Linked DNA regions of Homo sapiens: region 1 is linked to region 2. The links are contacts of gene promoters, found by promoter capture Hi-C in human tissues and cell types (Jung and others, 2019). All regions are on one chromosome and are shown on one strand. The core of a region is centred on a gene start or on the middle of the fragment in contact, and the rest is flanking DNA. Distances in the headings are between cores, read along the strand shown.

Region 1 (5,273 bases), core at 2,406-4,905, 52 kb before region 2:
CAGAAAACAGCCAGCTGAGTTTCCCAGCCAATGTCCAAGTCCACCCAGGGAAAACAAGGGAGCAAATGAAAGAACGAATTCTGTCCGTGGAAGAGGAGAATGTCAGTTAGGGCAACCATCGCCCATCAGGTCCTTCCCCAGGAAAAGATGCTGCGGGAAGACTAGGCCACGGTGAGAGGAGTTACCTAACCGCACTGTGACCCACTTACCCTACACAACTGTATGCACGATTTGACACCACTCTGCAAACATTGTTCCACACCAAGAGCAAGGGGCAAGCCCATGGGGCTGAAATGTCCCATGTTAACGACAGCTTCCCCACTCCACACCCTCAAAGCTTTTTCCTTTTCTTTCCTTCTTTCTTTTTTCTTTTTCTCTCTCTCCCCTTCCTTCCTTCCTATCTCTCTCTCTCTCTCTCTGTCTCTCTCTCTCTTTCTCTTTCTGACGGAGTTTCACTCTTGTCACCCAGGCTGGCATCCAATGGCGCAATCTCGGCTCACTGCAACCTCTGCCTCCTGGGTTCAAGTGATTCTCCTGCCTCAGCCTCCCGAGTAGCTGAGATTACAAATACACACCACCACGTCCAGCTAATTTTTTGTATTTTTAGTAGAGACAGGGTTCCACCATGTTGGTCAGGCTGGTCTCGAACTCCTGACCTCAGGTGATACACCCACCTTGGCCTCCCAAAGTGCTGGGATTACAGGCGTGAGCCACCGTACCTGGCCACCCTCAAAGCTTCTGCATTTGTCTCATCCTAGAATTCCCTCCTGAAACAACCTCAGGACTGCCTTCCCTTTAGGCAAGACAGTCTCGCATCCGGAAACAGGGTCTCTGTGGTCCATCTCTGAGATTCAAACCTCCCCATCTTTGGGAAGATTTGCAATTACCAGAAATAACCTGGCTCTAAATAGAAGACTTTATGAAACATGGCTGGAATGTTAGGTACATAGGCTACGTACGCCATTGTCATCCTAGAAGATTTGTTTTTCTAAGAAAAAGCCCACTGCCCTGTTGCAATCCACATTTTCCAACAGACTCTGATCTGATTTGCCTGCTACCCAACCCAGCCACATGCACAACGTGCTACGGCTGGTGCCAGCAACAGCAGCAATAGCTACAACCAATACCACAAACAATATAACCACTGGAAAACATCCACTTAAATAACTCTGGGTTTGAAGATAAAATCACAACAGTAATTACAAACGATCAGAGCACAGTAAAATTTATGGGATGGCAAATTGGTACAACACTAGAAAACTGATGGTGTCTACTAAAGGTAAGCATACATCCACCCTATGAACCAAAGCTCCTAGATCTGTACATACGCAATAGAAATGTATGTGTGTGTCCTTCAAAATACATGTCCTGAGAGTGTTTATGTCAGCGTTGTTCATGATGGCCAAAAACTGGAAACAACTCAAATGTCTACCAATAGGAGAATGGAGAAATAAATTATGGTGTATTCATAAAACAGAACACTACACCCAAATACAAAGACAGGCCATGGCCGGGCGCAGTGGCTCACGCCTGTAATCCCAACACTTTGGGAGGCCGAGGCAGGCAGACCACCTGAGGTCAGGAGTTCAAGACCAGCCTGGCCAACATGGCGAAACCCTGTCTCTGCTGAAAATACAAAAATTAGCCACGCATGGTGGCAGGTGCCTGTAATGTCAACTATTCAGGAGGCTGAAGCAGGAGAACTGCTTGAACCTGGGAGGTGGAGGTTGCAGTGAGCCAAGATTGCACCATTGCACCCCAGCCTGGGCGACAAGAGTGAAACTCCATCTCAAAAAAAATAAAAATAAAAATAAAAGACAGGCCAGGCATGGTGGCTCATGCCTGTAATCCCAGCATTTTTGGAGACCAAAGTGGGAGGATCACTTGAGACCAGCCTGGGCAATATAGCGAGATCCCATCTCTATTAAAAAAAAAAAAGACTATTGACACATGCAAAAAAAGGTCATATATCTTTAATCTCAAAGATATAAAATGAAAAGCCAGGCACAAGAAAACATACTGCATGTTCTCACTAATATGAAATTCAATACTAGGCAAAGCTGAACAATAGTGATAGAAGTCAGAATAGTGGTTATTTCAGGGAGGAGAAATTAACTAGAAGGGACAATGGGAAACTTCTGGGGATGCTAGAAATATGCTATGTCTTGATGTGGGTGATGATTACGCAGCTGTGGACACATGTACATATTCAAGTTGTAACACTAAGAATGTTTTTTGTTTTGTTTGTTTGTTTGAGATAGGGTTTTGCTCTGTCACCCAGGCTGGAGTGCAGCATGATTACAGCTTACTGCAGCCTCTATCTCCCAGACTGAAGCAATCCTCCCACCACTGCCTCTCAAGTAGCTGGGACTACAGGTGTGCAACACCACACCTGGCTAATTTTTTTAAATTTCTTTTTTGTAGAAACAGGGTCTCACTATGTTGCCCAGACTGGTCTCAAATTCCTGAGCTCAAGCAATCCTACCACCTCAGCCTCCCAAAGTGCTAGGATTACAGACATAAGCTACTGCACCTGGCTGCCCTTTCATTTTCCTTTTTCTTTTCTTTTTTTTTTTTTTTTTTTTTTTTTGGAGAAAGGGTCTTGCTCTGTCACCCAGGCAGGAGTGGAGTATCACAATAACAACTCGCTGCAGCCTCAGCCTCCTGGGCTCAAGCAATCCTCCCGACTCAGCCTCCCGAGTAGCTGGGACCAGAGGCACACACCACCACACCTAGCTAATTTTTTTAAATCTTTGTAGAGATGAGTTTTCAATGCTACATTGAAAGAAAAAAAATTCAATATCCAGGGGTGAAAATTCAAAGACAAGTACAAAGCAAACATGTTTTCATTATTAAACAAAAATAGACAAGGATAGGCCAGGCACGGTGGCTCACGCCTGTAATCCCGGCAGTATGGGAGACTGAGGCAGGTGGATCACCTGAGGTCAGGAGTTCAAGATTAGCCCAGCCAACATGGTGAAACCCCATCTCTACTAAAAATACAAAATTAGCCGGGCATGGTGACGTGTGCCTGTAACCCCAGCTACCAGCTATTTGGGAGGCTAAGGCAGGAGAATCACTTGAAACCAGGAGGCAGAGGTTGCAGTGAGCCAAGATCATGCCATTGCACTCCATCCTGGGCAAAAAGAGATAAACTCCATCTCAAAAAAAAAAAGACAAAGATAAATGCAGTAAGCTTTCAACCTGAAAAGCTATAAATGAATGAATGAATGAATGAATGAATGAATGAATGAATAAATAAATAAATAAATAAAACAGATCTAGGGCAAATAGTAGAAAAGTTAATAAAGCTAAAGACAGAAATTAATATTACAAAATATGGTATCTGACAAATCCAAGAAGTTGTTCTATGAAAAGTAAATTTAAAAGCAAAAATGAAAAACAAAAATGTTTAAGTTAGTCAAGAAAAAAACTGGGGAAACACACAAATAGCAAAAATTTAAAGTAAAAAATATTACAGACGTTTTTAAACTGAGAATGATATTTAAAACCCTTATTCTAATAAATTTGAAAATCTCATGAACCGATTTTCTCAGAAAAAAATGAGTTAACAAAATTGAGTCAAGACGAAACAAAGAAGCTGAACAAACCAGTAATTATGGGGGGGAAAACTGAAAAAAAAAGTCATCAAAGAATTATTTCAAAGCAAGATGCCAGACCCAGTTGGTTTTATGGGTGAGCTCTTTGCTGCACTCATGGAACAGATAATTCCCATGTTATAGAGACTGTTCCCAAAGTTGGAAAGCACATCAATTTACTTTATAAAATTAGCTTGGCCTTGATTCCAAAGCTGACAAAAATAGACCAAAGCTACAGACAAATTACCACTAACGAATATAGATGGAAAACCCCAATATAAAATATTAACAAACAATTCTAACAAAATTTTCAAGGAATAGTCTATCTTGAGCAACTAGGTATATTCTAGAAATTCTAAGATAATTACTATTAGGAAATTCATATAATAGATTTTTAAAAATCTTTTCTAGAGACAGGGTCTCACTCTGCTGTCCAGCCTAGAGTGCACTGGCACAATCATAGCTCACTGCAGCCTCAGAATCCTGGACTCAAGTGATCCTCCTGCCTCAGTCACCCAAGTAGGTGGGACTACAGGCGTACACCATCACACCTGGCTAATTTTTTTTTTAATTTTTAGTAGAGACAGGGTCTTGCTATGTTTCCCTGTCTGGTCTCAAACTACTGGCCTCAAGTGATCCTTCTGCTTCAGCCTCTCAAAGTGCTGAGATTACAGGTATGAGCCACTGTGCCCAGTTGTAGAAATTAATATAGTAATTTAAAGAAGAAAAATCATATAATCATTCCAATGGCTGCTTAATAGATATTTGATACAAAGTCAACACCCAACCTGGGCAACATAGTGAGATACCATCTCTAAAAAAAAAAAAAAAGAAAAAAAATTAAATTAGTAACACACCTATAGTCCCAGCTACTCCAGAGACTGAGATGGGAGGATTGCTTGAGCCTGGGAGGTAGAGGCCACAGTGAGTGGTAATCATGCCACTGCACTCCAGCCTGGGCAACAAAGCAAGATCCTGTCTCAAAAAAAAACTCAACATCCTTCCTGACTTTTTTTTTAACCTGCAATGATTAATAAATCAAAAAGATTCCCAGTCAGAAAGGTGCCAAAAAATAAAATAAAAAAAGAAGAAGAAAGCAAAAAGGTTACTAATACCCAGCCTTACACCTAGAAGTTATTTACTAGAGGGCATTTCTCTATCACCACTAAAACAGAAAGTTTTATGCAAAGCAACTAACACAAAATAGAAATATAATTATCTCTTAGGATTAACAAAATTATCAGTGTCACAACCCACATAAAAGTCTACCAAGCAGGCTGGGCGCAGTGACTCACGTCTGTAATCCCAGCACTTTGGGAGGCCGAGGCAGGCAAATCGCCTGAGGTCAGGAGTTTGAGACCAGCCTGGCCTTAATGATGAAACCCCGTCTCTACCAAAAATACAAAAATTAGGCATGGTGTTGGGCGCCTGTAATCCCAGCTACTCAGTAGTCTGAGGCACGAGAATCGCTTGAACCCAGGAGGTGGAGATTGCAGTGAGCCAAGATCATGCCACTGTACTCCAGCCTGGGTGACAGAGTGAGACTCCATCTCAAAAAAAAAAAAAGTCTACCAAGCAAACTCAAAAGAAACTACTGCAAACCTATACTAAAGGACTCAGTAAACTGACAGATTACAAAAGAAAATGCAGAAACAGCCATTTACCAACAATACT
Region 2 (5,325 bases), core at 2,550-5,049:
AAAAACTAGCTGGGCATGGTGGTGTGGGCCTGTGGTGCCAGCTACTCGAGAGGCTGAGGTAGGAGGCTCACTTGAGCCTGGGAGTTCAAGGTTGCAGTGAACTATGATCATGCCACTGCACACCAGCCTGGGCAACAGAGAGAGACCGTGTCTCAAAAAAAAAAAAAAGAAAGAAAGAAAGAAAGAGAGAGAGAGAAAAGGAAAGGAAAGAAAAAAGAAGAGAAGAGAGAAAAAAGTGGCTCTGAATCAGTTTGTCTGGGTGTTACGTTATTTTCACCACTTACTGACCATGTCAGCTACACCTAGTGGCTTTAGTTAGCTATCCCTTGTCTGTAAAACAGTACCTATCTTGGCCGGGCGCGGTGGCTCACGCCTGTAATCCCAGCACTTTGGGAGGCCGAGGCGGGTGGACCACGAGGTCAGGAGATCGAGACCATCCTGGCTAATACGGTGAAATCCTGTCTCTACTAAAAATACAAAAAAAGTCGGGCATGGTGGCGGGCGCCTGTAGTCCCAGCTACTTGGGTGGCCGAGGCAGGGGAATGGCGTGAACCCGGGAGGGGGAGCTTGCAGTGAGTTGAGATCGCGCCACTGCACTCCAGACTGGGCGACAGAGCAAGACTCCGTCTCAAAACAAAACAAAACAAAAAAAAGCTTTTCTCGGGACGGGAGAGGCCGTGTAGCGTCGCCGTTACTCCGAGGAGAGACCAGTCGGTAGAGGAGAAGTCCAGGTTAGAGGGAAGTGGGAGGCACTTTGCTGTCTTCAATCGAAGTTGAGGGTGCAAAAATGCAGAGTAATAAAACTTTTAACTTGGAGAAGCAAAACCATACTCCAAGAAAGCATCATCAACATCACCACCAGCAGCAACAGCTGCAGCCGCCACCACCGCCAATACCTGCAAATGGGCAACAGGCCAGCAGCCAAAATGAAGGCTTTGACTATTTGGCCTGAAGAATTTTAGAAAACCAGGAGAGAAGACCTTCACCCAACGAAGCCGTCTTTTTGTGGGAAATCTTCCTCCCGACATCACTGAGGAAGAAATGAGGAAACTATTTGAGAAATATGGAAAGGCAGGCGAAGTCTTCATTCATAAGGATTAAGGATTTGGCTTTATCCGCTTGGAAACACGAACCCTAGCGGAGATTGCGAAAGTGGAGCTGGACAATATGCCACTCTGTGGAAAGCAGCTGCGTGTGCGCTTTTCCTGCCATAGTGCATCCCTTACAGTTCGAAACCTTCCTCAGTATGTGTCCAACGAAGTGCTGGAAGAAGCCTTTTCTGTGTTTGGCCAGGTAGAGAGGGCTGTAGTCATTGTGGATGATCGAGGAAGGCCCTCAGGAAAAGGCATTGTTGAGTTCTCAGGGAAGCCAGCTGCTGGGAAAGCTCTGGACAGACGCAGTGAAGGCTCCTTCCTGCTAACCACATTTCCTCGTCCTGTGACTATGGAGCCCATGGACCAGTTAGATGATGAAGGGGGACTTCCAGAGAAGCTGGTTATAAAAAACCAGCAATTTCACAAGGAACGAGAGCAACCACCCAGATTTGCACAGCCTGGCTCCTTTGAGTATGAATATGCCATGCGCTGGAAGGCACTCATTGAGATGGAGAAGCAGCAGCAGGACCAAGTGGACCGCAACATCAAAGAGGCTCGTGAGAAGCCAGAGATGGAGATGGAGGCTGCACGCCATAAGCACCAGGTCATGCTAATGAGACAGAATTTGATGAGGCGCCAAGAAGAACTTCGGAGGATGGAAGAGCTGCACAACCAAGAGGTGCAAAAACGAAAGCAACTGGAGCTCAGGCAGGAGGAAGAGCGCAGGCGCCCTGAAGAAGAGATGCGGCGGCAGCAAGAAGAAATGATGCAGCCACAGCAGGAAGGATTCAAGGGAACCTTCCCTGATGTGAGAGAGCAGGAGATTTGGATGGGTCAGATGGCTATGGGAGGTGCTATGGGCATAAACAGCAGAGGTGCCTTGACCCCTGCTCCTGTGCCAGCTGGTACCCCAGCTCCTCCAGGACCTGCCACTATGATGCCGGATGGAACTTTGGGATTGACCCCACCAACAACTGAACGCTTTGGTCAGGCTGCTACAATGGAAGGAATTGGGGCAATTGGTGAAACTCCTCCTGCATTCAACCATGCAGCTCCTGGAGCTGAATTTGCTCCAAACAAACGTCGCCGATACTAATAAGTTGCAGTGTCTAGTTTCTCAAAACCCTTAAAAGAAGGACCCTTTTTGGACCAGCCAGAATTCTACCCTGGAAAAGTGTTAGGGATTCCTTCCAATAGTTAGATCTACCCTGCCTGTACTACTCTAGGGAGTATGCTGGAGGCAGAGGACAAGGGAGGGGTGGTATTAAACAAGTCAATTCTATGTAGTATATTATTTAATCAGTTCTGTGTGGTGCATTCCTGAAGTCTCAAATGTGATTGTTGAGGGCCTGGGGAAACCATGGCAAAGTAGATCCAGTTAGAGCCCATTAATCTTGATCATTCTGTTTTTTTGGTTTGTTTGTTGTTTTTTTTTTTTTTTTTTTTTGTCCATCTTGTTTCATTTGCTTGCCCTGCCCCCGAGATGGAGTCTTACTCTGTCGCCCAGGCTGGAGTGTAGTGGCACGATCTCGGCTCACTGCAATCTCTGCCTCTCGGGTTCAAGCTTGTCCAGGCTGATCTTGAACTCCTGACCTCGTGATCCCCTGCCTCAGCCTCCCAAAATGCTGGGATTACAGGGGTGAGCCACCGTGCCCAACCTCACTTGCTTTCTTATCCTTACACTCCCCCAGTCCCAGAGAAACTGCCACATACACCACAAAAACCAAACATCCCCCAATGACCTTAGCCGCATTGCTCCATTCACTCCCAGGTGAGAATTCAGGTAAACGTCCACAAAGGTCACAGGCAACGTACATACGGTTCTATTATATCCCATATATTACCCCTTCATGTCCTAAAGAAGACATTTTCTCTTAGAGATTTTCATTTTAGTATATCTTTAAAAAAAAATCTTGTGTTAACTTGCCTCCATCTTTTTCTTGGGTGAGGACACCCAGGAATGACCCTTTTGTGTCTATGATACTGCTGTTCACAGCTTTTCTTGATAGGCCTAGTACAATCTTGGGAACAGGGTTACTGTATACTGAAGGTCTGACAGTAGCTCTTAGACTCGCCTATCTTAGGTAGTCATGCTGTGCCTTTTTTTTCCATTGGTGTATTGTATTTGATTTGTCTCTGATATATTTGGAGTTTTTCTGAGAACTGGAGCAGTAATGCAGCATCGACCTATTAAAATACATTTTAAGCCTTTAAAAAAAAACAGTACCTATCTCATAGGGGTGCTGTGATAACGAAATTAGGTAATCTGTATTGATTGACTTTTAACCATAAGAATATATACAGGTTTTAAATTTATTTATTTATTGAAGAGATGGGGGTCTCTCTATGTTGCCCAGGCTGGTTTCACATTCCAGGGCTCAGGCAATCCTTTCGCCTCAGCCTCCTTAATAGCTGGGACTCTAGGCGCGCACCACTACACCTGGCAGGTTTTATCTTCAAAGGTGAAGAAGGCACTAAGGTCTAGATGCTGAAGCCGATTTCCCAGGTGTCCCCCAAGGTTTGACCCCGCCCACACTTCTCTGGCTATGCGGGCGGCGTCGCTGCGCATGCGCGCGAGTAGAGCAGGGAGGTGCTGGCGCGGCCGCCAGGAGGCGCAGCTAAGTCGCGGCTGCTCTTCCTGGTTCCCAGAGGCCCAGACTTGGACATAGGAGCCGGCGCAAGCTCCGTGCGCATGCGCGCTCCCCTCTCACGCAGCCAACATGGCTCCAGTGGAGCACGTTGTGGCGGATGCTGGGGCTTTCCTGCGGCATGCGGCTCTGCAGGTACGGGGAGCTCCCTCCGGGACGAGAGAGATCTGGGCTGGCCGCCCCTCCCGGAGTGCGTGGAGTCGCGCGGAGCGTTGCTTGGTGCGGGTGGGTCTGAGCTGGGGCGTTCTGTCCGCAGGACATCGGGAAGAACATTTACACCATCCGGGAGGTGGTCACTGAGATTCGGGACAAGGCCACACGCAGGCGGCTCGCTGTCCTGCCCTACGAGCTGCGGTTCAAGGAGCCCTTACCGGAATACGTGCGGCTGGGTGAGTGCCTCTGCCCTAGCGTTGACGGGAAGCTGGGGTCCAGGGCGCAGATGGCACCCAGTTGGGTGCGAGTTGGGGTCTAGCTGCCTTATCAGAGCAGTAGATTTAGAGCCAGCACTTTCTAGGAGATTGTGGTAGGAGAGAGGCTTCCTGGGTCTGGAGTCCTCCAGTAACTAGCTGTATGCTCTCGGGCATAGCATTCAAATTTGGGCCTCGTTTACCTCATCCGCAAAATGGGAATAATAATTGTATCTGTCTCCAAGGTTGCTGTGAGCATGAACTGAGGAATATGGCAGTCAGCTCAGTGTCAAGCACTTTGCAGACAAGCAATAAATTTATTTGGATTTAAAATAAGAGTTTGGATCTCTTGCTATTACTCTCGTCCATTTCTTTTCAGTAGATTGGGCTGATGACTGGATACAAAGATCTGCACCTGGCAGAGCTTTAAAAAGGGAATGCTTTGCATTGTATTAAATGTGAAAGAAAATTAAGCTGGGCGCGGTGGCTTACGGCCTGTAATCCCAGCACTGGGAGACCGAGGCGGGCGCATCACCTGAGGTCAGGAGTTTGAGACCAGCCTGACCAACATGGTGAAACCCTGCCTCTACTAAAAATACAAAATTAGCTGGGCGTGGTGGTGTGCTCCTGTAATCCCAGCTACTTGGGAGGCTGAGGCAGGAGAATTGCTTGAACCTGGAGGTGGAGGTTGCAGTGAGCCGAGATCGTACCACTGCACTCCAGCCTGGGCGACAGAGCGAGACTCTGTCTCAAAAAAAATAAGAAATAAAGAAAATTAAAGAATTGTCTCTTGGCTTAGGAGTCAGCGTTGTTCTCTTGTTGGGAATCAAGGTGATACCCAGGAAAGGCCCCTCAGTGGTTGGAAGTGTTTTAGAGGTTAGAGGCTGATAGTGGAGATGATGTTACCTCCTCTGTTTGTGATTTCTACGATTTTCTCCACCAACTTAGTAGCTCTGTGATCTTTGCCAACTTACTAAATCTTTCCGAGGAAATACTAATAGTACTTTTGAAGAATGGCAAAGGATGAAATGCATTAACACATAAAGCTTTTAATGCAGTGCCTAGTACACAGTAAGTGCACAGTAAATTTTCGTTGCTGCTAATGTCTGTTTTTTAGGAAATAAGAGCAATATACCTAGTGTTCCTTGTACCAGGGTAGCAGGAGACATCTTTCTG

Evidence for each region. Contacts are between HindIII fragments. The study calls those that stand out against the background at their distance.
Region 1: a fragment that was not itself captured here is called in contact with the fragment with the promoter of NOB1 in region 2 in 1 of the 25 tissues and cell types used here (mesendoderm cells).

Annotation. Positions count from the first base shown.
Region 1 is chr16:69,804,937-69,810,209 of GRCh38, reverse strand. The region is part of intron 4 of WWP2 (WW domain containing E3 ubiquitin protein ligase 2); the gene reads right to left. Among named protein-coding and RNA genes, the nearest start is that of WWP2, 45 kb to the right of the region's middle. The HindIII fragment of the contact is 3,377 bases long and covers 1,967-5,273 here.
Region 2 is chr16:69,753,400-69,758,724 of GRCh38, reverse strand. It overlaps NOB1 (NIN1 (RPN12) binding protein 1 homolog), which reads left to right and starts at 3,799. Exons shown (of 9, transcript NM_014062.3): 1 at 3,799-3,877; 2 at 3,999-4,131. The coding sequence starts at 3,815. It also overlaps the pseudogene NONOP1. RefSeq lists enhancers at 3,507-4,129, 4,130-4,753. The HindIII fragment of the contact is 4,198 bases long and covers 1,657-5,325 here.